6 separate regions of the Homo sapiens genome follow, and all the other regions are linked to region 4. Evidence: promoter capture Hi-C in 16 types of primary human blood cells and fetal thymus (Javierre and others, 2016). All regions are on one chromosome and are shown on one strand. Each heading gives the region's core, a stretch centred on a gene start or on the middle of the fragment in contact. The rest is flanking DNA. Distances are from core to core; before and after follow the strand shown. Region 1 overlaps LOC124903672 (a long non-coding RNA gene). Region 2 holds the start of RABEP2 (rabaptin, RAB GTPase binding effector protein 2). Region 3 overlaps NFATC2IP (nuclear factor of activated T cells 2 interacting protein). Region 4 holds the start of NPIPB7 (nuclear pore complex interacting protein family member B7). Region 5 has its middle 3.4 kb from the start of XPO6. Region 6 has its middle 4.9 kb from the start of NFATC2IP.

Region 1 (3,945 bases), core at 1,034-3,533, 350 kb after region 4:
TTATTCTATCTAACTATATCTCTGTACCCATTAACCATTCTGCCTTCCCTGCCTCCATTACCCTTCCCAATCTCTGGTAAACATCCTTCTACTCTCTGTCTCCAGGAGTTCAACTGTTTTTCATTTTTGGCTCCCACAAATAAGTGAAAACTTTTGAAGCTTGTCTCTGTGCCCACCTTATTTCACTTAGCATCATGACCTCGAGTTCCATTCATGTTGTCACATATGACAGGATCTCATTCTTTTTTATGGCTGAATAGTACTCCATTATATATATGTACCACATTTTCTTTATCCATTCATCTGTTTGTTGGGGTTTTTTTCTGTTTTTGTTTTGAGATGGAGTCTCCACCTGTCGCACAGGCTGGAGTGCAGTGGCATGATCTCGGCTCACTGCAACCTCTGTCCACCTCCCAGGGTCAAGCGATTCTCCTGCCTCAGCCTCCCGAGTAGCTGGGATTACAGGCGCCTGCCACCAGGCCCGGCTAATTTTTGTATTTTTAGTAGAGATGGAGTTTCACCATGTTGGCCAGGCTGGTCTCGAACTCCTTACCTCAAGTGATCTGCCTGCCTCAGCCTCCCAAAGTGCTGGGATTACAGGCATGAGCCACTGCGCCTGGACAATTTTTACTTTTTTTTTTGAGACGGAGTCTTGCTCTGTCACCCAGACTGAAGTGCAGTGGCGCCGTCTTGGCTCACTGCAAGCTCCGCTTCCCGGGTTCACGCCATTCTCCTGCCTCAGCCTCCCGAATAGCTGGGACTACAGGCGCCCACCACCATTCCTGGCTAATTTTTTTGTATTTTTAGTAGCGATGGGTTTTCACCATGTTAGCCAGGATGGTCTCGATATCCTGACCTCGTGATCTGCCTGCCTCGGCCTCCCAAAGGGCTGGGATTACAGGCGTGAGCCACTGTGCCCAGCCAATTTTTACTATTTTTATATTTCCAAAAGCTTTGAACTAATTTTACTACTTATGTGCAAATTCTTTTTTTTTTTTGAGACAGAGTTTCACTCTTGTTGCCCAGGCTGGAGTGCAATGGCACGATCTCGGCTCATCGCAACCTCTGTGTCCCAGGTTCAAGCGATTCTCCTGCCTCAGCCTCCCGAGTAGCTGGGATTACAGGCATGCGCCACCATGCCCAGCTAATTTTGTATTTTTAGTAGAGATGGGGTTTATCCATGTTGCTCAGGCTGGTCTTGAACTCCTGACCTCGGGTGATCTGCCCACCTCGGCCTACCAAAGTGCTGGGATTACAGGTGTGAGCCACCATGCCTGGGCTTCAAATTCTTTATTTTGAAACAATTTCAAATGTACAGAGATGTTAAAAGGCTAGCGTTTCCAGGAAAGTCTAGAACGTCAGGATAACATTTACCCAGATTCACCAGTTGTTAATATTTTGCCACATTTGCATTTTCTCTTTCTGTGTGTATATTATACATATATATGTGTGTGTATGTGTATATATATATATATATATATGCTTTTTTTGGAAACCTTGTTTGTGTGTGAGACTCATTCTGTTGCCAGGCTGGAGTGCAGTGGCAAGATCTCGGCTCACTGCAATCTCCACCTCCCGGGTTCAAGCGATTCCCCTGCCTCAGCCTCCCGAGTAGCTGGAACTACAGGCGCGCACCACTACGCCTGGCTAATTTTTTGTATTTTAGTAGAGACAGGGTTTCACCATGTTGGCCAGGCTGGTCTCGAGCTCCTGACCTCAAATGATCCACCCACCTCAGCCTCCCAAAGTGCTGAGATTACAGGCATGAGCCACCACACCTGGCCTTTTGGAAACATTTGAGAGTAGGTTGCATCTATCACACTCTGTTGCCCCATCATACTTCTTTATATATTTACTAAGAATATACCCTGGGCTGGGCTTGGTGGCTCACGCCTGTAATCCCAGCACTTTGGGAGGCCAAGGTGGGCAGATCACTTGAGGTCAGGAGTTCAAGACCAGCCTGGCTAATGTGGTGAAACCCCGTATCTACTAAAAATACAAAAATTAGGCCGGGCGCAGTGGCTCACGCCTGTAATCCCAGCACTTTGGGAGGCCAAGGAGGGTGGATCACCTGAGGTCAGGAGTTCAAGACCAGCCTGACTAACATGGAGAAACCCCCTCTCTACTAAAAATACAAAATTAGCCAGGCGTGGTGGCACACGCCTGTAATCCCAGCTACTCGGGAGGCTGAGGCAGGAGAATCACTTGAACCCAGGAGGCGGAGGTTGCAGTGAGCTGGGATCTCACCACTGCACTGCAGCCTGGGTGACAAGAGGGAGGGAGACTCTGTCTCAAAAAACAAAAAACAAAACAAAACAAAAAAACACCCTGGCCGGACATGGTGGCTCACATCTGTGATCCCAACACTTTGGGAGGCAGAGGCAGGTGGATAGCTTGAGGCCAGCAGTTCAAGACCAGCATGGGCAACACAGCAAAACCCCATCTTTACCAAAAGAAAAAAAAACCAAGAAACAAAAAATTAGCTGGGCGTGGTGGTGCACACCTATAGTTCCAGCCACAACTACTTGGGAGACTGAGGTGGGAGGATCTCTTGAGCCTGGGAGGTGGAGGCTGCATTGAGCCAAGACCCCACTGCTGCACTCCAGCCTGGGTGACAAGAGCGAGACCCTGTCTCAACAACCACAAAAAAGAATACATCCTTCCATATCTCCAGTAGAGTCATAACACATTCAGGAAATTTATCATGGATGCAATACTTTGTAGTCTATATTCCAAATTTATCAATTTTCCCCATACTGTCTGTTTTGTTTTTATTTTGAGATAGGGTCTCGCTCTGTCGCTCAGGCTGGAGTGCAGTGGCGAGATCACGGCTCACTGCAGCCAGGACCTCCTGAGCTCAAGCAATCCTCATTTTCCCCCATCCCCCCATCACAGGTAATCAATTTGATGAGTTTCTGGTTTATACTTTGTTTTTCTTGGCAAAAACCTGCAGATACATTTATGTCTTCATATTTCCCCTTCTTCCTTATACAAAAGGTAGCACAGTATACAAAAGGTAGCACAGTCTTTTGAAGTTTGCTTTCTTTTTCTTTTCTTTTTTTTTTTTTTTTTTTTTTTATGAGATGGAGTCTGGCTCTGTCATCCAGGCTGGAGTGCAGTGGCATGATCTTGGCTCACTGCAACCTCCACCTCCCGGGTTCAAGCGATTCTTCTGCCTCAGGCTCCCGAGTAGCTGGGACTACAGGCGTGAGCCACCACACCCAGCTAATTTTTGTATTATTAGTAGAGACGGGGTTTCACCATATTGGCCAGGCTGGTCTCGAACTCCTGACCTCACGATCCAACCACCTCGGCCTCCCAAAGTGCTGGGATTACAGGCGTGAGCCACTGAGCCTGGCCATAGTGATATAATTTTTAAATTGCACACGATAAGACAACATTCCCATTGTTGGGGCAGGAGTGCTGCCCCAACCCCACCACCAGGAATGTTAGGCAACCATCAGGTGATGGTCAGGTGGTTGTTAAACTTGTCTCTAAAATAGTAATTGGTTGCAGCCAGCACCAGGGAAAGGCAGTCTCCAAATAGATGGAAAACACTTGAAACTGATGATCAGCAGCTTCTCGATAAGATCTCAGAAGTTGGGTAAATGGGCTCAAGCTTATGCACCAAGAGGCAAAATGGCGGAGTTTAATGGTACATGCCCTTCCTCCAGGAATGCTAGATCTGTAAGGGAAGAACGTCTTAAGTGAGCATGTGCACTTCAGTATACTGAACACACTGTGCTTGTGGCCCCTCCAAGTGCTGGCAGGCCACCGTGCATGTGGACAGCCCATGCCAAGGTAGGAATCAGGGGAGAAGAGATGCAAACCGTAAATCCCTGGAAGCATGCCAGCATATGAAACCCCAAGTCAAAGGTCAAACCAGGGACTTGAATCTGTCAAGTCATTCACGCCTGGCCCTCTTCCAAGTGTACTTTACTTCCT
Region 2 (3,949 bases), core at 653-3,152, 450 kb after region 4:
AGGAGGTGGAGGTTGCAGTGAGCTGAGATCACACCAGCGTGCTGTGACGCACTCCAGCTTGGGCGACAGAGTGAAACTCTTATTGACTCAAGAAAAAAAAAAAAAGCTAGCTATTGTTATTATTTAGGACACACCTGGCTTTTCTTATATAGTAGATATAACAAGTTTCCCTTAATAAATGTATGTAAACTTTTAAAATGTGGATCTATTTAAAGAACAAATATTAAGTAAACAGCACAGTAAGTTGTACAAGGATGTGTCTACATTGCACAGGCAGGTGGATCCTGAAATGTGGGAAATACAGCCCCAGAGAAGTCTCCAGCCACCAGCAGCTGTTAGAAAGGGAAATCGCATGTTGGGAAGGGAATTTTAGGAAGTTTACTCTGGAAGCCAATGTCAAGGCCACACTATAGAGGAAGATCTGTGAGAAGGTTGGGACAAAAGTCCAGGAGAGAGTTGACGAGAGCCCCACCGCAGCAGGGGCATAGCAGCGGGGGCAGCTCTGACATCTGTTTCAGAGTCTCTGGCTTCTGCTAGAGGAAGGAGAGTAGAAAACAGGATCAGCAGCTGGGGCGTCTGGGGCCAGAGGACCAAGTACAAAGAACGTGGGGCGGAGGTGGGGAAGCTGGTGCATGGCGTGGGGTGGAGGGGGGAGTGTCTGGGGAAGGCTAGAGAGCAGAGCATTAGACTCACAGAGACTGGGCCAGGGCTGATTCTATTTCCCAGAAGTCCAGACTAAAATGAGGTTGGTTTGGGGAACTGAGAAGTTTCTCGCCCATCTTCAGGGTTGATCAATCATCAGTGAGGGACAAGAAATGACATGGGACAAGGCAACAGATAGAAGCTGGGAGCTAAACTTAGCTATAACTGACAGAGCTGCTGCTATCACATGGAGGGCCTCTATGCAAATTTTAAAAGGGCGGCCCTTCCTCTGGGCCATAGGCATGCCCTGTGCCAGGCAGCCCTGCTAACCTATCCCATAGCTTATCTGTGCCCCCAATCCCTTTCTCGTCATGCACTCCCCAGTATGGGGTTGATGGGGAGTCTAGGTGAGTCCCGCGTCTCACCTTTCAGGATGGCCTGCAGCGAGGCCACCTCCTCTTGGCACTGCCGCTGCACCGCAGCCACAGCCTCGGCCTTCGTGCTCTCGCTCACCTCTGCCACAGCCTTCATGGTTTCCATTTCTGCCAGGGCGCCTGCCAGCTCAGCCCGAAGCCGGCTGAGCTCACCTGACTCGGCCTCACCATTTGCCCCTTCCTGGGACCGGGAGTCCTCCAGTGCTGTGGGGGACAGGGATCAGCCTCTCTTCCCATCTCTTACCCCAGGCCACCTACCGGCTTAGCAAGTCCTGCAACCTAGTACTGTTGCCTTCATCTGGGGCCTCCTTCACCTGGGCCCGCCCGGCTCACCTGGCCCCGCCCCTGCCCCGCCCCCTTCCCACTCGCTCTGCCGGGTGCTGCCTACACTCCATCTCTTCGCGGTGGCCAGTTTCACTCAGTCCTCTCTTCGGTCCCACCTGGCCCCGCCCTCCTAGTGGCCGCGCCCCTTCCTCACCGGGCCCCACTTCGCACCTGTCACTGGCCCTACCCCTTCAATGGCCGGGCCACGCCCCCTTTTGCCTGTGGCTGTAGGCCCCGCCCCCTTTCCCGACGGCGTGGCCCCGCCCCTTCCTCCATCATCCCTCTCCACCCCCCATCCGCAGGTGGCTGGCTCGGCCCCGCCCCCAGCATCACCGTTCCCCGCTTGCACGGACGCCCCCTCACGTACCAGCCCCCGGCCGCCGCCGCCGCTCATCGTCGTCCGCGGCCACCGGCGCAGCTGCCGCCATTGCCTCAGCGCAAACGGCGGATTCCCGCACTCCCTGGTGACGGAGCGCACCGCTTCCGGGTCCTCTCGGCTGTTTCCGGATCCGCTCGGCTGTTTCCGGATCGGCCCCGGGCTGGAGGCCCCGGACGGAGGATGGGGGGATTGCCGAGCCTCGGCCGAAGATTCCCGAGTCGGCCCCCGGCCCCGGCCCCGGCCCCGCCCCGGCTCTTCTTGGCTGGGTCGCGCGGTTCGGGAGGACGCCTGCCTTTCAAGCCCGGAAGAGGATCCTTAAGAGGTCTTGCCCGGCGTCTCTCCGTGACCTTGGAAGCCCTGCTCCAATTATGCCTCCTCCGGGACACCGGCCTGCGGAGAGCTCCCCCTCGCTCCCTCGCTGCCCCTGCCCGGAGCCAGCCTTTGATCGGCTCCGGCCGCCCTTCCGCCCGAGCCTGGCTTGCGTTACCGCGAATTGTGGCGGGGCCCTCCCTGCACCTCCGCCCTCTTGGAGCGTCCCTCGGGGCAGGGCCGGGTCGGCTTCATTTTTCTGAGCGCCTCGGAGTCCCCGCGTAGTTAGTCGGAGTCTGAAACTTGCACGTCCCCACCCCCATTTTGTTACTCAGCCAGTCACCGCTTCCTGCTGGCCCCCCTTTCCTCCTCCCAACGCCCTCAAATCCCTCCTCTCCTCTCCGCCTGTGTCTAGATCAGGCTCTTTATCTGTGACCTCCACCCGGACGGTGACAGGCAATTCAGATTTATGTCCAGAGCCTTGGTTCCCCTTCCCTCAAACCTTTTTTCCCTCTGTAAAGGACACGCCAGGAACCTGGAAGTCCTTGATTCTACGTGTCCTCCTGCAAGTCCCGTAAACTCTACTTCCAATGTGCTGACTATTCCAGAATGTGCCCCTTTTTCTCCATCTCCAGCGCTAACACTCCGTCCCAGCTCCCATCACTTCTCCTGAACTTCCGCAGTGTCGACTCCACCCTTTAATTAATTAATTCTCCGTAAAGCAGCTGGAGCGATTTTTGTAAAACAGATAATGCAGTTTGAAAATGGCCAAAGGTAGAACGCTTTTACACTGTTGGTGGGAATGTAAATTAGTTCAACCATTGTGGAAGACAGTGTGGTGATTCCTCAAAGACCTAGAACCAGAAATACCATTTGACCCAGAAATCCCATTACTGGGTATATACCTAAAGGAATATAAATCATTCTATTACAAAGATACATGCACGAGTATGTTCATTGAAGCACTATTCAAAATAGCAAAGACATGGACTCAACCCAAATGCCCATCAATGATAGACTGGATAAAGAAAATGTGGTACATATACACCATGGAATACTATACAGCCATAAAAAGGAACGAGATCATGTCCTTTGCAGGGACATGGATGAAGCTAGAAGCTATTATCCTCAGCAAATTAATGCAGCAACAGAAAGCTAAACATGCATGTTCTCACTTATAAGTGGGAGCTGAACAATGAGAACACATGGACACAGGGAGGGGACCAACACACATGGGGGCCTGTGGGGTGGGTGTTGGGAGGGGGGAGGGAGAGCATCAGCAAGAGTAGCTAATGCATCCTGGGCTTGATACCTAGGTGATGGGTTAATGGGTGCGGTAAACTACCATGGCAGATGTTTCCCTGTGTAACAAACCTGCACATCGTGCACATGTACCCCAGAACTTGAAATAAAGAAAATGGACAAAGGATATGAACGGATATTTCACTGCTGTCACAGGTGGCAATATGTGCATGAAAAGATGTTAAACATCATTAGCTATTTATTCGGGAAATACAAATTAAAACCACAATTGCTTTCATCACTACGCACTTCTTGGAATGGCTAAAATAAGAATGCTAACACCAAATGCTGGTGAGTATGTGGAGAAACTAGGTTTCTCATATTTTGTTGATGGGAATGTGAAATGGTATAGCCACTCTGCAAAAAGAGTATGGCAGTTTTGAACAAAACTAAACACGCACTTACTTTTTCATCAAGTATAAAACCAAGTGTTTTCCACCAAGCTTGGAGCTGAGGTCTCGGCTCAAATGTTACCTCCTCAGTGAGGCCTTCCCTGATCACCCTAACTAAAATAACCACCTCTGGCTGAGTGTGGTGGCTTATGCCTATAATGCTAGCA
Region 3 (3,589 bases), core at 251-2,750, 490 kb after region 4:
AGGGCCAGACGTGGTGGCTCACGCCTGTAATCCCAGCACTTTGGGAGGCTGAGGTGGGCGGATCACGAGGTCAGGAGTTCAAGACCAGTCTGATCAACATGGTGAAACCCTGTCTCTACTAAAAATACAAAAAATTAGCCGGGCATGGTGGCATGCGCCTATAGTCCCAGCTACTCAGGAGGCTGAGGCAGAAGAATCGCTTGAACCTGGGAGGCGGAGGTTGCAGTGAGCCAAGATCAAGCCACTGCACTCCAGCCTGGGCGACAGAGCTAGACTTCGTCTCAAAAAAAAAAAAAAAAAAAAAAAAGACAGGGTCTTGCTCTGTTGCCCAGGCTGGAGTGCAGTGGTGCGATCTTGGCTTACCACAGCCTCAAACTCCTGGGCTCAAGCGATCCTTCTACCTCAGCCTCCTGAGTAGTTGGGACTACAGGTGTGTGCCACTACCCTTGGCTAATTTTTTAATTTTTTTTGTGTAGACGGGGTCTCACTATGTTGCCCAGGCTGGACTCAAACTCCTGGGCTCAACTGATCCTCCCACCTCTGCCTCCCAGAGTGTTGGGATTACAGGCATGAGCCACTGCACCTCGCCCCCTCCTTGGGTTTAATTTGCTAGAGCAGCTTACAGAACTCAGGGAGACACTTACTTTCATTTACTGGTTTATTATAAAGGATGTTACAAAGGATACAGATGAAGAGATGTGTAGGGCACAGCATGGGAAAAGGGCGCAGAGCTTCCATAGCTTCCCTGGGCACCATTCTCCAGGAATCACCACATGTTCAACTATTGGGAAGTTCTCCAAACCCTGTCCTCTGGATTTTTATGGAAGCTTTGTTATATAGGCATGACTGATTAAACCATGGGCTATTGGTGGTGACTCAACCTTCACTCTCTCCCTCCTTCTTGGAGGTTGAGGGGTGGGGAAAAAGTCCCAACTGTCTTATCCTACCTTGGTCTTTCTAGTGACCAGCACCATTCCTGAAGCTCTCTAGGGGCTGCCAGCCACCAGTCAACTCATTAGCATGCAAAAAGATACTTAACTCTTTCCCAGGGATTTTAGGAATTTTATACCAGGAAACATACAAAGACCAAATATATATTTGACAACATCACGCAGTCCCTCAGGGTCTCTTCATGGAATCTGCCCTGTCTCCTCCTGGCTCCTGCTGGCGGCCCACAGTCCTTGGCATTCTTGGCTTGCAGGTGCACTCCATTCTGCCTCTGTCATCACGTGTGTTCTCCCCTCATGTCTGTTTCTGTGTCTGTTCCATAAGCATACCAGTCCCAGGCTGGGTGCGGGGGCTCACGCCTGTCATCCCAGCACTTTGGGAGGCCAAAGTGGGTGGCTTATCTGAACTCAGGAAGTTTGAGACCAGCTTGGGCAACAGAGAAACTGTCTCTACCAAAAATACAAAAACTTAGCTGGGTGTGGTGGCCTGTGCCTGTAGTTGCAGCTACTCAGGAGGCTGAGGCAGGAGAATTGCTTGAACCCAGGAGGCAGAGGTTGCAGTGAGTTGTCTACCAGTCCCACGGCATTAGCACTCGTCCCAATCCAGTACAACCTCAACTTGATTGCATCTGCAAAGGCCCCGTCTCCAAATCACATCACATTCACACTTAACAGGGGTTAAGACCACAAGGTGTCTTCTCTGGGGAACATAACCTGTAACATTTTTCTAAGGTCACATATCTAATAGGTGGGAGAGCCTGGCCTCCAGCTCGACTCATCCTCACTCTAGAATCTGGGCTCTCTTAGTCATTGGTACACACTTCTGTTTCATAGGGAAGGAGGCTGAGGCTAGGAGGACTTGCCTGACTTAGAGCCTATACCCCTAAGCCTTGGGCTCGTGGCCCCCGTCCTCTACCTGAGCAACTTGGAGCCCAGAGGGATGACAGGATTCGTCCCAGCTCCCAGAGAGGAGCCTGGCTGGGCTGGCTTCTTTGTCCTCTCTCCTTTCCCCGCATGGGGCCCTGACTTTATTGTTTCCGCCCCTGCCGCCATCCTCCCTGTCCCAAGTTCCTCGTCTATCCCTACGGGATCCCCGCCCCCTTTCATGTTCTGACGTCCATTTTCTTTTGTCTCCATCCAGGATTCCCCTCTAAAGACCCTCATGTCCCACTATGAGGAGGCCATGGGACTGTCGGGACGGAAGCTCTCCTTCTTCTTTGATGGGACAAAGCTTTCAGGCAGGGAGCTGCCAGCTGACCTGGGCATGGAATCTGGGGACCTCATTGAGGTCTGGGGCTGACACCCCACTCCCTGTTTGACGGCCCAGCCTGGACTTGGGGAGAATGACTTTCCCTTTTTTGCCCCATAAGGGCTAGCATAAGCTGAGGTAGAACTTATCTTTAAGCTGCAGCAAAATCAAGGAGTGACTTTTGTCCCCTCTCCTGTTGACCCTGGTTTAGAGCCGTTAACCACTTGGTGAGTTATGTGGGTGTTGTTGCCCTGGGTGGCCTGTGGCTCCGTCCACAAGTCATGCTGAGTTTTGCAGCCTCTGTGACTTGGAGATGTCCCTTCACCCCTCCCCTTTCACCACCATCCTCTTTTCCTCATGGAAATGTCTGCTTTATGAAACTATGCACATATTGAAAGTGAGTTGAAACAAATGAGGGTTGGGTAGGAGCTTCCAGGCCTGGGATTTACACCACGCCTAGCCCAGCAGAGGCCTTAGTCCCATTTGGGGCTTGGGAGTGACATTTGCTTGAGGCTTATACACTGGTGTGGTTGCCTGGCTTGCAGGAAATGACCAAGCTCACACATGCTGGCTGAAGCGTAAGCAGACAACTGAGGTACTCTTTTGAAGGATGAAGGTGGTGGATTCTCAGCCCTGGGGGTCTTCCTCACCTGAGGACCCTTCAGAGCCACCCTTTCTAGTTTGCATTTCCTGGTGCACACATTTAAGGCATAACAGCACATTCATCCCTTTGGTTTGGGATCTCAGGAATACAGTCCCATGCAAAGATTCTCTGGTTTTATGGCTTTTTTCCCTTTCTTTACACCATCCTCTCCCATAAGCACCCATGTCTTTGAATATGAATGTATTTGTAAAATACCACGTTTCATGTGTGAATATGTGCTTTTACTGTACATAGTGCTATTGTGCAATAGGTCTTATGCTGTTTTCACTCAATGTGTGCTAAGATCTAGCCCCATTGACTCTTCTAGAAATGCAGTATTGCTTTGACCTGCCATGTGGCACTCCACAATGTCAATTGCAGTTTACACACATTGCCTAAAGTGGGGGACACCTGGGTGCCCCTGACCCCTTGGCACCGGATACAGGCCACGATAAACATCCTTTCGTGTGTTCCCTTCTGTGCTTGTGTGGCATGTGTACCCAGGATGGGCCTATAGGTCACAGAGGTCAGTTTCTCTTTGGTTTTCCAGATTTTCTTTAGAACGGTGACTGACCCTCCTACTTGAGGCCGCCCTTTTCTCCTTATCCTTGCCAGCACTTGTATTGCCAGACTACCTAATTTTTGCCAGTCTCATGGGTAGATAGTGGTGCAGTGCTTTAACATACATTCATCTGATCAGCATTAATTTGGGGAATTTTTTCACTTAGCCTTTCTGGTTTCCCTTCCTGT
Region 4 (3,703 bases), core at 596-3,095:
CTTAGGGCAGGGGGGAGGGAAGGGGACGGGGACCGGGGCCGGATCTGAGTTGGGGCGGGGGAGGGGAGGGGGAGGGGAAGGGGAGGGGGAGGGGAAGGGGAGGGGGAGGGGAAGGGGAAGGGGAGGGGAAGGGGAGGGGAGGGGGAGGGGAAGGGGAGGGGAAGGGGGGAAGTAAGGGAAGGGAAAGGAGGAGAAGGGGGCTGTTGGGCACCTGGAGGAGGTGGAGGAGGAGAAGAAGAAAGGGGTCTGGGAAAGGATCCGGTTCAAATTAAGTTCTCAAGCGCTGGTGGAAGGTTTAGCTACAGGTCACGGAGAAGATCAGGGAAGCAACAGGACACGCGGGGCAAGGGAGCGTGAGGCTTAGGAGCAATTAGAGGGAGACAAAAAGGTTCTGCTATCCGCCAAACCTTCTTCGGTCTGGGCCCTCCCTTAGCAAACCTGGGGCTTTATACTCCCTCTCCACCAATCCCTGATGACCCCGGTGGTGCCTCACAATGGACAATGCCAAGTAGCGCCCGCATCATTCCAATGACCCCTCCCCCATCTCAGTCTCCCACACTCCTCGCAAGGACAGGTCCTCTCTGGAACCTTCACAAACCTGATTTCTGGTCCTCCCCAACCAGCTCCCTGTCCCTGCTTCTGGGCGCTCCTTCCTTCCTGAGCTCCCAGGGTTCCTCAAGGTCACTTTTGGCGACAAAACATAAAAAACAAATGATGGCAGGATGGCAGGAAGAACCTCATACCCAAGCAGAGTGCCAGGTTTTACAGCCTCCGCTCAGCCATTCATATCCTAAGCAACAAAACATCAGCAGGATGCGGAAGGTCCCGATAGTAAACCATCTCCATCACATCCATGTAGCCATCCGTCCATCAACCCGTATCTCAGGAACAAATGTAGATACATTCATTTTAAGCAAGCATGGTACATTTACAAAAATTAACCTGACTTATTTTGTTCCAGCAAATCTCAATATATTTGAGAGCAATCAAATCACACAGCACGTTTCTGATCATATAACTGTGCTAGAAGTCAATGATTAAAAGCTAATTCAAAATTATTATTTGCTTGGAAATTCAAAGTGCCCTTATAAGACATAAACATAAGAAAGAATCCAAAATGAAACAAGATTGCCTTTCAACTCAATGATAAGATCATAACATGGCAATAAAATGTCTCCCTCTGGCCTGGGAATTCCTCTTTGTGGCACAAGGTTGTGTGATCTCAAATCACCCCTAACCCACCTAGACAATTTAACATCCGAAACCGAGTGATGATGTCCTTATCTATAATCATCTTACTGCCTGTGTGTGTGGACTTTAAATTCTGAACCCAAATGAGGGGGAGAAAACCAAGTTGACCTTCATGATTGACCTCTCAGGGATGTCCAAGGAATCTGTGCATGGTGGCACCTGCCTGTAGTCCCAGATACTTGGTAGGCTGAGGCAGGAGAATCACTTGAACCTGGAAGATGGAGTTTGCAGTGAGCTGAGATAGTGCCACTGCACTCCAGTCTGAGCAACAGAGCGAGACTCCGTCTCCAAAAAAAAAAAGTTGGAGGATTCACATTTCCTATTTTCAAAAGCTCACTACAAAGCTATAGTAATTAAGACAGTGTTGTATTGGTGTAAGAATAAACCTGGGTCTGGTGCAGTGGCCCACGCCTGTAATCCCAGTATCTCTGGAGGTCAAGGTGGGCAGATCATTTGAGCTGAGGAGTTTGAGACCAGACTGGGCAACATAGTGAGACACCGTCTCTACCAAAAAAATGTACAAAAGGTAGCTGGGTGTGGTGGCTAATTGGGAGGCTGAGGCAGAGGAGCCCAGGAGTTCAAGGTTACGGTGAGCTATGATCACGCCACTTCACTCCATCCTGGGTGACAAAAACCCTGTCTCTAAACAAAATAAAAAATAAAAGTAAAAATAAAGTTAGCAGTTAGGGTCTACTATGTTAACTTTTTTCTGCACAGACTGCTGTATCACACCACCTGCAAAAAAGTTAATTCAAAATGAAAACAAGATCTAAATGTAAGAGCTAAAACTATAAAACTCTTAGAAGAAAATGTAGGAGGCTGGGCGCGCTGGTTCACGCCTGTAATCCCAGCACTTTGGGAGGCCGAGGTGGGCGGATCACTTGAGGTCAGGAGTTTGAGGCCAGCCTGGCCAACACGGTGAAACCCCGCCTCTATTAAAAATATAAAAAATTAGCTGGGTGTGGTGGCACACCCTTGTAATCCCCGCTACTCAGGAGGCTGAGGCAGGAGAATCGCTTGAACCCGGGAGTCTGGGCAAAAAGAATGAAACTCTGTTTCAAAAAAAAAAAAAAAAAAAAAGGAGATGGGGTTTCACCGTGTTAGGCAGGATGGTCTCGATCTCCTGACCTCGTGATCTGCCCGCCTCAGCCTCCCAAAGTGCTGGGATTACAGGCGTGAGCCACTGCACCCCGCCCCTCTTTGTTTGTTTTTTAAGAGATAGGGTCTTGCTCTGTGCCCACATTGGGGTGCAGTGGTATGATCATAGCTCACTGCAGCCTCGAATTCCTAGGCTCAAGTGATCCTCCCACTTCAGCCTCCAGAGTAGCTGGGAGTACAGGCACGCAGCACTACACCTGGCTTATTTTATTTTTATTTTTTGAGACAGGGTTTCATTCCTGTCACCCAGGCTGGAGTGCAATGGTTCAATCTCAGCTCACTACAACCTCCACCTCTCGGGCTCAAGCAATTCTCCCGCCTCAGCCTCCCAAGTAGCTGGGACTACAGGCATACCTTGCCAGGATAATTTTTTCTTTTTTCTTTTTTTGCCATGATGCCCAGACTGGTCTTGAACTCCTGGCCCAAGTTGTCCTCCTGCCTCCCAGAATGCTGGGATTATAGGCATGAGCCACCACGCCCGGCCTCCTTTTATCATTATTTTAATTTTTTATAGAGATAGAACCTTGCAATGTTGCTCATGCTGGTCTTGAACTCCTGGTCTCAAGCAAACCTCCCGCCTTGGCCTCCCAAAGTGCTGGGATTACAGGCATGAGCCACTGCACCTGGCTCCCACTTAGATATGTTACCAGAAGCACAAGCAACCAAACAAAAAATAGATAAATTGGACTTCATCAAAATAAGTGTCTTTCCGTACCAAAAGACAATATCAAAAAAGTAAAAAGACAACACAGAATGGGAGAAAATATTTGCAAATCATGTATCTTATAAGGGACTTCTGTCTAGAATATATGAAGAAATCTTACAACTCAAAAAGACTTCAGATCTCTGGCTCTTTAATAAAAAAAGACAATCCCATTTAAAAATGGGCAAAGGATCTGAGAAGACATTTCTCAAAGAACTATATGTACGGTCAATAAGGACATGAAAAGATGCTCAGCATCATTAGTCACCAGGGACATGCAAATCAAAACCACAGTGAGATACCACTTCACACTCACTAGAAAGGCTATAATAAAAACCAAACCAGACAACCAAAGGAAAAAAAAAAAACAAAAACGGAAAAGAGGCTGGGCACGGTGGCTCATGCCTGTAATCCCAGCACTCTGGGAGGCCAAGGCCGGTGGATCACCTGAGTTTAGAAGTTGGAGACCAGCCTGGCCAACATGGCGAAACCTCGTCTCCATAACAAATACAAAAATTAGCCAGGTGTGGTGGTGGGTGCCTGTAATCCCAGCTACTTGGGAGGCTGAGGCAGAAGAATAGCTTGAACCCA
Region 5 (3,792 bases), core at 237-2,736, 260 kb before region 4:
GGGAGGCAGCTAGTCTGGAACAAAATATCTTTAAACAATTGTCCCCGAGCATGTGGAGGTGGGAGTGTGCCCGAACTCCCATACACAAGTCTCAGTGGACCTGACAAATTTTGCATACTTCACATAACTCAGACTTCCCTGAGCTATTTTTCTTTCCTGTCAAACCTCAGTGTGATCTGAATCAATTCACCCAGAAGGACTGTTAAAACAAAGATTACTCGCTCCACTCATAGACTTTCCCATCCAGTAGGTTTGAGATGGGGCTGAATAATTTGCATTTCTAACAAGCTCCCAAATGAAGCTGATGCTGCAGGTCTAGATACCACATTTGGAGAACCACTGATACAACACTTTACCACTGAAAGCAATAGCTTTCAGGGGTTTTTTAGTTTTTTGTTTGTTTGTTTGTTTGTTTGTTTTTGGAGAAAGGGTCTCACTCTGTTGCAGTGACATGATCATGGCTCACTGCAGCCTCAAACTCCCAGCCTCAAGCACTTTTTTTTTTTTTTTAATGAGACAGAGTTTCGGTCTTGTTGCCCAGGCTGGAGTGCAATGGCATGATCTCGGCTCACCGCAACGTCCGCCTCCTGGGTTCAAGCAATTCTCCTGCCTCAGCCTCCCAAGTAGCTGGGATTACAGGAGCCCACCACCGCACCCAACTAATTTTTTGTATTTTCAGTAGAGACGGGGTTTCACCATGTTGGTCAGGCTGGTCTCAAACTCCCGACCTCAGGTGATCCACCCGCCTCGTCCTCCCAAAGTGCTGAGATTACAGGCATGAGCCACCGCGCCAGGCCATCAAGCACTATTTTTTTTTCTCTTGAGAGGGAGTTTCGCTCTTGTTGCCCAGGCTGGAGTACAATGGTGCAATCTCGGCTCACTGCAACCTCTGCCTCCCAGGTTCAAGCAATTCTCCTGCCTCAGCCTCCCAAGTAGCTGGGATTACAGGCACCTGCCACCACACCCAGCTAAATTTATTTTTGTATTTTTAGTAGAGACGGGGTTTCGCCATGTTGGCCAGGATGGTCTCACCTCCTGACCTCAAGTGATGCGCCCACCTCGACCTCCCAAAGTTCTGGGATTACAGGCATGAGCCACCATGCCCAGCCTCAAGCACATTTATTTTATCAAATCTTTATTGTTGTCCACTAAGTGACAGTCACTATTTCAAGGATTCAATGCTGAGCAAAACAAATATATGTGTGCCCTTATGGAATTTAAAGACAAATTATTTGTAAAATATTGTACAATAATGGATCAGTTATTGTGATAAGAGCAATGAAGGAAAAATTGAAACTAACATGATATAACTTTAATATAGTTTACACGCTAATAAGGCCAAGGGATCTAAAATAATCTGGCAGATTAGGATGGGGAGGAAGTCAGGAAGTGACATTTCTTTAAGCTTTGGCCTTAAAGAAGCAGGAGTTTGCTAGGCAAAGAGAGGGGGCATAGAACATTCCAGGCAGTAGAAACAGCATGTACAAGAGAAGCCATCTCAGTAGGTAAGCTGATGAATCGGAATGGAGGCCAAGTCACTTACTTGGCTTAGTTTAGTAGGATGAGTGAAAGCTTTGGGTTGAGACTCATTTGGAGTGGAATCCAGCTCTTAACTTCACTAGCTAAGGTATCTTGAGTTATTGACTCTCGAAGTCTTGGTTTCCTTACTGTAAAATTGAATGAGATAACAGAAATGCAACTGACTCACTTAAGGGTATGCCTTTGGGTTACATAACTGGACTTCCAGAGATTCATTAGCTTTTGGCTGGGTGTGATGGGAGGCCTAGATCCATTCCTCTAGGATTTTCTTTTTTTTCTGTGTGTGGTTTTGTGTGTGTTTGTTTGTTTGTTTGTTTGTTTTGTTTTGTTTTATTTTTTTGAGACAGGGTCTCAGTCTGTTCTCCATGCTAGAGTGCAGTGGCGCAATCACAGCTCACTGCAGTCTCGACCTCCCAAGCTCAAGCAAGCCTCTCACCTTAAACTCCCAGTTAGCTGGGACTACAGGTGTGCGCCACTATGCCCAGCTGATTTTTTTTTTTTCAGCAAAGACAATGTCTCACTGTGTTGCCCAGGCTAGTCTCCAACTTCTGAGCTCAAGTGATCTGCCCACCCCGGCCTCCCAAAGTGCTGGGATTACAGGCATGAGCCACCACGCCCGGCCATTCCTCTAGGACTTCCTTGCTCTGCTCTTCTCCATTATCAGACTTGTTGTCAAGGTGGTTGCCAGGAACAGCCAGGGCCACAAAATTCCCTGTTCAAATCCAGCAAAAGAGAGCACCTTTTGGCCGGGCACAGTGGCTCACACCTGTAATCCCCAACACTTTGGGAGGCCAAGGTGGATGGATCGCTTGAGGTCAGCAGTTTGAGACCAGCCTGGCCAACTGGTGAAACCCCATCTCTACTTAAAAATACAAAAATGAGGCTGGGCATGGTGGCTCATGCCTGTAATCCCAGCACTTTGGGAGGCCGAGGTGGGTGGATCACCTAAGGTCGAGAGTTTGAGACCAGCCTAGCCAATATGGAGAAACCCCGTCTCTACTAAAAATACAAAAAATTAGCCAGGTGTGGTGGCGCATACCTGTAATCCTAGCTACTTGGGAAGCTGAGGCAGGAGAATCGCTTGAACCCGGGAGGCGGATGTTGTGGTGAGCCGAGATTGCACCATTGCACTCCAGCCTGGGCAACCAGAGCAAAACTCCATCTCAAAAAAAAAAAAAAAAAAAATTAGCTGGGCATGGTGGCAGGCGCCTGTAGTCCCAGCTACTCAGGAGGCTGAGGCAGGAGAATTGCTTGAACCCAGGAGGCAGAGGTTGCAGTGAGCCGAGATTGCACCACTGCACTCCAGCCTGGGTGACAGAGTGAGACTCCATCTCAAAATAAAGAAAAAAGAGAGAGCACCTTTCTCACATCCTTTCTCAAGCCAAGAAGCTTTCCCTACTGATCCTAATTGGCCTAGGCCTAGTCCCCCGGATCTAGCCGTAGTGAAGGAGGGTGGAACTGCTATGAGTGGCTTATAGAATCCCCTGGAGTTGCTTTCAATTCCTCAGAATAAACTGGATGTGTGGAGTCACCACATCATAGCTCCATTGCCAGGCTGGGGTGAAGATTTAATTTAATGTACATAAAACACCTGGCACATGAGGCATGAGATAAGTCACAGCTATTATAAATTTGACTCCAGGGATTTTGTTCAAGTAAACTAAATAACATTTTGTTATTAATATTAATCTGAAGCCTGTCTTATTCCAAAAAAAGATTTAAGGCTGCTATTACTTTTAGTTGGCACTGCAGGGATGGCCCCCAGCCATCTCTGCCTGCCTATTTCTATTGCTACTGCCTTGATCGCCTGCATTTAGTTATTCATTCAACAAACTTTCAGTGAGTTAGTATTAGCTTTGTGCCAGGCCTTTTGCTAAAAATGAAGTATTTAAAGTGAATAAGAATCAGGCAAATTGTCCACTGTCTGGGTCAGCAACAGCCACCCAAATAATTACAGCACATTGTGAGGTGTGTATGAACTTCCTAAGCGTACGAGGAAATGGGGAGGAAGCAACAAAGATGGTAACCTTTGGGTTGGGTCTTGATGGACGAATAGAAGTTCACCTGGCTGCTGCAGTCTTCAGTCCTTTTCCTACTCCAAGCTGTCTTCCACTGTGTCCGTTTCATTGCAAGTAACAAGGTGGGGACCCTAAAGTTTGGACTCTTAACAGTTGAAGAAGAAAAAAAGAATGTATTGTCTCGTAAAACGCCATCCAAAGGTTTGGATGAATTTCAGATATGGTGGATTCAGGG
Region 6 (3,687 bases), core at 726-3,225, 470 kb after region 4:
TAGCTGTTTTTTGTTTGTTTGTTTGTTTGTTTTGATGGAGTCTGGTTCTGTCACCCAGGTTGGAGTGCAGTGGTGCAATCTTGGCTCACTGCAACCTCCACTTCCCAGGTTCAAGCAATTCTCCTGCCTCAGCCTCTTGAGTAGCTGGGACTACAGGCACACACCACCAAGCCCAGCTGCCCAGCTAGATTTTTTTTGTTTGTTTGTATTTTTAGTAGAGACAGGGTTTCATCATGTTGGCCAGGCTGGTCTTGAACACCTGACCTCAGATGATCCGCCTGCCTCAGCCTCCTAAAGTGGTGGGTTTACAGGCATAAGCCACTGTGCCTGGCCCAGACTAGCTGGGTTTATGTGAATCCTGGCTCCACCCCTTTCCAGCTACATGGCTTAAGCTCTCTGAACTGCAATTTCCTGGTCTGTAAAATAGACCATGAAATAGTAATTCAGAAAATGAGGACATTATCAATGAGTCTTAAATGACACGTAAAGCATACAACAGTGGCTTAGCAAGGACTCAAGCATGAGCTCTTATTATTTGACATCTTATTTATTTATTTATTTATTTATTTATTTATTTTGAGACAGGGTCTCACTAGGCTAGGCTAGGCCAGGTTAGAGGGTAATGGCACAATCATAGCCCACCGTAACTTTGAACTCCTGGATTTGAGTAGTTCTCTCACCTCAGCCTCCCTAGTAGCTGGGACTATAGGCGTGCACCACCACACCCGGCTGGCTAACTTCTGTATTTTTTGGTAGAGAAGGGGTTTTGCCATGTTGCCCAGGCTAGACTTGAGCTCCTGGCCTCAAGTGATCCTCCCACCTCGGCCTCCCAAAGGGCTAGGATTACAGTCGTGAGCCACTGCGCCTGGCCAAAAAATAATTTTTTTTTTTTTTAAGAGATGAGGTCTTGGCTGGGCACGGTGGCTCACACTTGTAATCTCAGCACTTTTGGAGGCTGAGGCGGGTGGATCACTAGGTCAAGAGATTGAGACCATCCTGGCCAACATGGTGAAACCCCGCCTCTACTAGAAATACAAAAATTAGCCGGGCCTGGTGGCACACGCCTGTAGTCCCAGCTACTTGAGAGGCTGAGCAGGAGAATCGCTTGAACCCAGGAGGCGGATGTTGCAGTGAGCCGAGATCACGCCACTGCACTCCAGCCTGGCAACAGAGCGAGACTCCGTCTCAAACAAAAACAAAAACAAAAAACAGAGATGAGGTCTCGCTATGTGTGCCCAGGCTAGCCTTGAGCTCCTGGACTCAAGCAATCTTCCCATCTCAAGCATTCCTAGTAGCTGGGACTTACAGGTGCACTTTCAGCTCTTGAGCAAGGTTTGGGGAAAGGAGACTTGAAAATTTTAGACTCTCAGGGCCACCTCCTGCTTGCGGTTTGCAGTGGTTTCCCGGGAGCGCCCAAGACTGGCCTGCCGCCTGGCTACAGAGAGAGGCTGAAGGCCTCCTGGGGCTGGGAAGTCGGTGGAGTCCAGGAGCCTCCGTTTCCTGGAAAACAGCTCCACCTGCTGGCTGTTGTGCGCCTGCAGTCCTGACCTTGGCGGAGTCTGCACGGGGAAGGGAAATGCATGCTGGTCCAGCGGGGGGCGCCTGCAGGGGACATCGGTGCCGCGGTTGGGATGGAGGCGTATGGGATGAGACTAGGGCAGAGGTGGACATGCCGTTCTGCGTGGATGTATGAGGCGCGAGTTTTGTGAGCACCGTGGGTGTGAGCAGCATGTGGTATTGGGTGTGTGCGGTGTGGGTATCCTGAGCGACGTGTGGCGTGGGACGTAAGTGTGAGGCGGCAGGTGGTTATACGGTTGGAGGCAAAGTGGGAAGAGTGAAGTGTTGAAGGGGCGTGTTTGTGTTGTGTTGGGATATATGTTGTGCAGGAGTTGCCAACGCTGTGGATGTGTGGAGGGCGTGTAGTCTCTGAGGTGCACAATATTGTTGGTAGGAGGTGTTGGCGAGTGTGTTTGGGAAATATAATTAAGAAACAAAATATCTAAACCCAACAAACTTCTCCACAAAGGTAGTAGAGACAGAAAACAGTTTTATTATTATTTTTGGTTAAAAAGTTGTAAAATGGGCCTGGCGTGATGGCTCACGCCTGTAATCCCAGCACTTTGGGTGGCTGAGGCGGGCGGCTCACCTGAGGTTGGGAGTTCGAGACCAGCCTGACCAACATGGTGAAACTCCATCTCTACTAAAAGTACAAAAAATTAGCCAGGCGTGGTGGCGCATGTCTGTAATCCCAGCTACTCAGGAGGCTGAGGCAGGAGAATCGCTTGAACCCGGGAGGTGGAGGTTGCAGTGATCCAAGATTGTGCCACTGCACTCCAGCCTGGGCAACAAGAGTGGAACTCCATCTCAAAAAAAAAAAAGTTTTAAAATGTATTATTATTTTTCGTAGAGTTGGGGGTTTTACTATATTGCCTAGGCGGGTCTTAACGCTCAGCCTGAAGTGATCCTCCCACCTTGGCCTCCCAAAGTGCTGGGATTACAGACGTGAACCACTGTGCCTGGCCTTAAATTGTATGTATTTATTTATTTTTAGAGAGAGGGTCTTGCTCTGTTGCCCAGGCTCGAGTGAAGTGGTGAGATCATAGCTCACTGCAGCCTTGAACTCCTGGGCTCAATCAGCCTCCCAAGTAGCTAGGACTACAGGTGTGCATCACGACACCCACTAATTATTATTACTTTTTGTAGAGACAGGGTCTTGCTATATTGCCCAGGCTGGCCTTGAACCCTAGACCTCAAGTGATCCTCCCACCTCAGGCTCCCAGTGCTGGGATTACAGGCATAAGCCAACATGCCCGGGCTGGTTTTATTATTGAATAAGCATAATTTTTCTTTCTTTTTTGACATGGAGTTTCACTCTTGTTGCCCATGCTGGAGTGCAATGGCACAATCTCAGCTCACTGGAACCTCTGCCTCCCGGGTTCAAGTGATCCTCCTGCCTCAGGCTCCGGAGTAGTTGGGATTACAGGTGCCCACCACAATGCCTGGCTAATTTTTTGTATTTTTAGTAGAAAAATACACCACCATATTGGCCAGGCTGGTCTCGAACTCCTGACCTCAGGTGATCCAACCACCTCAGCCTCCCAAAGTACTGGGATTAGAGGCGTGAGCCACTGCACCCGGCTTGAATAAGCATTAAGTTAGAATGTGATGCACATCACTGGCAATCTGGTAAAAGATTGCAAAGGCAAAAAGAAATATCCTTCATTACAGCCAAGCAGGTGTAAACCATTATCCTGTTTTCAAGATAAAATTTCAAATTCCATATTGTTACAGGAGCTGCAGGTTCATATGCCCACTGTGCAGTCACAGCTCTGTGACTCTGAGACGGTGGGGATGCAGCAGAGAGAGTTTAATGATTGCAGGGTGCCGAGCGAGGTGATGGGAGGAGACCCTCAAATCTCTCTCCAGGGAGTTCTGGGCTGGGCTTTTAAGGGGTTTGTGGGGAGTGATGGGCTGGAATATTGGGGTCATTGATTGGTTGGGAAGGGGGATGAAATTGTCAGGGTGTAGAAGCTGCATTTTGCGGGGAGTCAGCTCCTTGTGGGGTCCTTCAGGTCAGCTGAATCAGTAGTTCCATCAAGACCTGAAGGAATATCTCAAAGGGAACACCTAATGTAATGTCCAAGCCGTGATTCAAGAGCAGTTAAGGGGAACTATAATCTTCTGACA

The links. Contacts are between HindIII fragments. The CHiCAGO score rates a contact against its expected background, and 5 or more counts as called.
Region 1: a contact is called between a fragment that was not itself captured here and the fragment with the promoter of NPIPB7 in region 4, in 1 of 17 cell types (erythroblasts). The highest score is 5.3, in erythroblasts.
Region 2: a contact is called between the fragment with the promoter of RABEP2 here and the fragment with the promoter of NPIPB7 in region 4, in 1 of 17 cell types (erythroblasts). The highest score is 5.8, in erythroblasts.
Region 3: a contact is called between a fragment that was not itself captured here and the fragment with the promoter of NPIPB7 in region 4, in 1 of 17 cell types (total CD8 T cells). The highest score is 5.4, in total CD8 T cells.
Region 5: a contact is called between a fragment that was not itself captured here and the fragment with the promoter of NPIPB7 in region 4, in 1 of 17 cell types (naive CD8 T cells). The highest score is 5.3, in naive CD8 T cells.
Region 6: a fragment that was not itself captured here is called in contact with the fragment with the promoter of NPIPB7 in region 4 in 1 of 17 cell types (monocytes); the score reaches 5.0 in monocytes.

What each region holds. Positions count from the first base shown.
Region 1 is chr16:28,816,337-28,820,281 of GRCh38, forward strand. LOC124903672 (a long non-coding RNA gene) reads right to left here. Exons shown (of 2, transcript XR_007065042.1): 2 at 2,755-3,685. Among named protein-coding and RNA genes, the nearest start is that of ATXN2L, 4.7 kb to the right of the region's middle. The HindIII fragment of the contact is 2,667 bases long and covers 951-3,617 here.
Region 2 is chr16:28,923,336-28,927,284 of GRCh38, forward strand. RABEP2 (rabaptin, RAB GTPase binding effector protein 2) reads right to left here and starts at 1,903. Exons shown (of 13, transcript NM_024816.3): 1 at 1,768-1,903; 2 at 1,068-1,280. The coding sequence starts at 1,828. RefSeq lists enhancers at 1,035-1,124, 1,155-1,384, 2,363-2,946 and silencers at 1,545-1,764, 1,795-2,144. The HindIII fragment of the contact is 8,433 bases long and covers 1-3,831 here.
Region 3 is chr16:28,961,617-28,965,205 of GRCh38, forward strand. NFATC2IP (nuclear factor of activated T cells 2 interacting protein) reads left to right here. Exons shown (of 8, transcript NM_032815.4): 8 at 2,089-3,589. The coding sequence ends at 2,247. All of the region lies in intron 1 of NFATC2IP-AS1 (NFATC2IP antisense RNA 1), which reads right to left. Among named protein-coding and RNA genes, the nearest start is that of NFATC2IP-AS1, 3.0 kb to the right of the region's middle. RefSeq lists a silencer at 691-899. The HindIII fragment of the contact is 1,351 bases long and covers 826-2,176 here.
Region 4 is chr16:28,470,491-28,474,193 of GRCh38, forward strand. NPIPB7 (nuclear pore complex interacting protein family member B7) reads right to left here and starts at 1,846. Exons shown (of 7, transcript NM_001396030.1): 1 at 1-1,846. It also overlaps a transcript of CLN3 not described here. RefSeq lists a silencer at 3,336-3,405. The HindIII fragment of the contact is 21,132 bases long and covers 1-3,703 here.
Region 5 is chr16:28,213,488-28,217,279 of GRCh38, forward strand. No RefSeq gene overlaps it. Among named protein-coding and RNA genes, the nearest start is that of XPO6, 3.4 kb to the left of the region's middle. The HindIII fragment of the contact is 167 bases long and covers 1,404-1,570 here.
Region 6 is chr16:28,944,212-28,947,898 of GRCh38, forward strand. No RefSeq gene overlaps it. Among named protein-coding and RNA genes, the nearest start is that of NFATC2IP, 4.9 kb to the right of the region's middle. The HindIII fragment of the contact is 5,380 bases long and covers 1-3,687 here.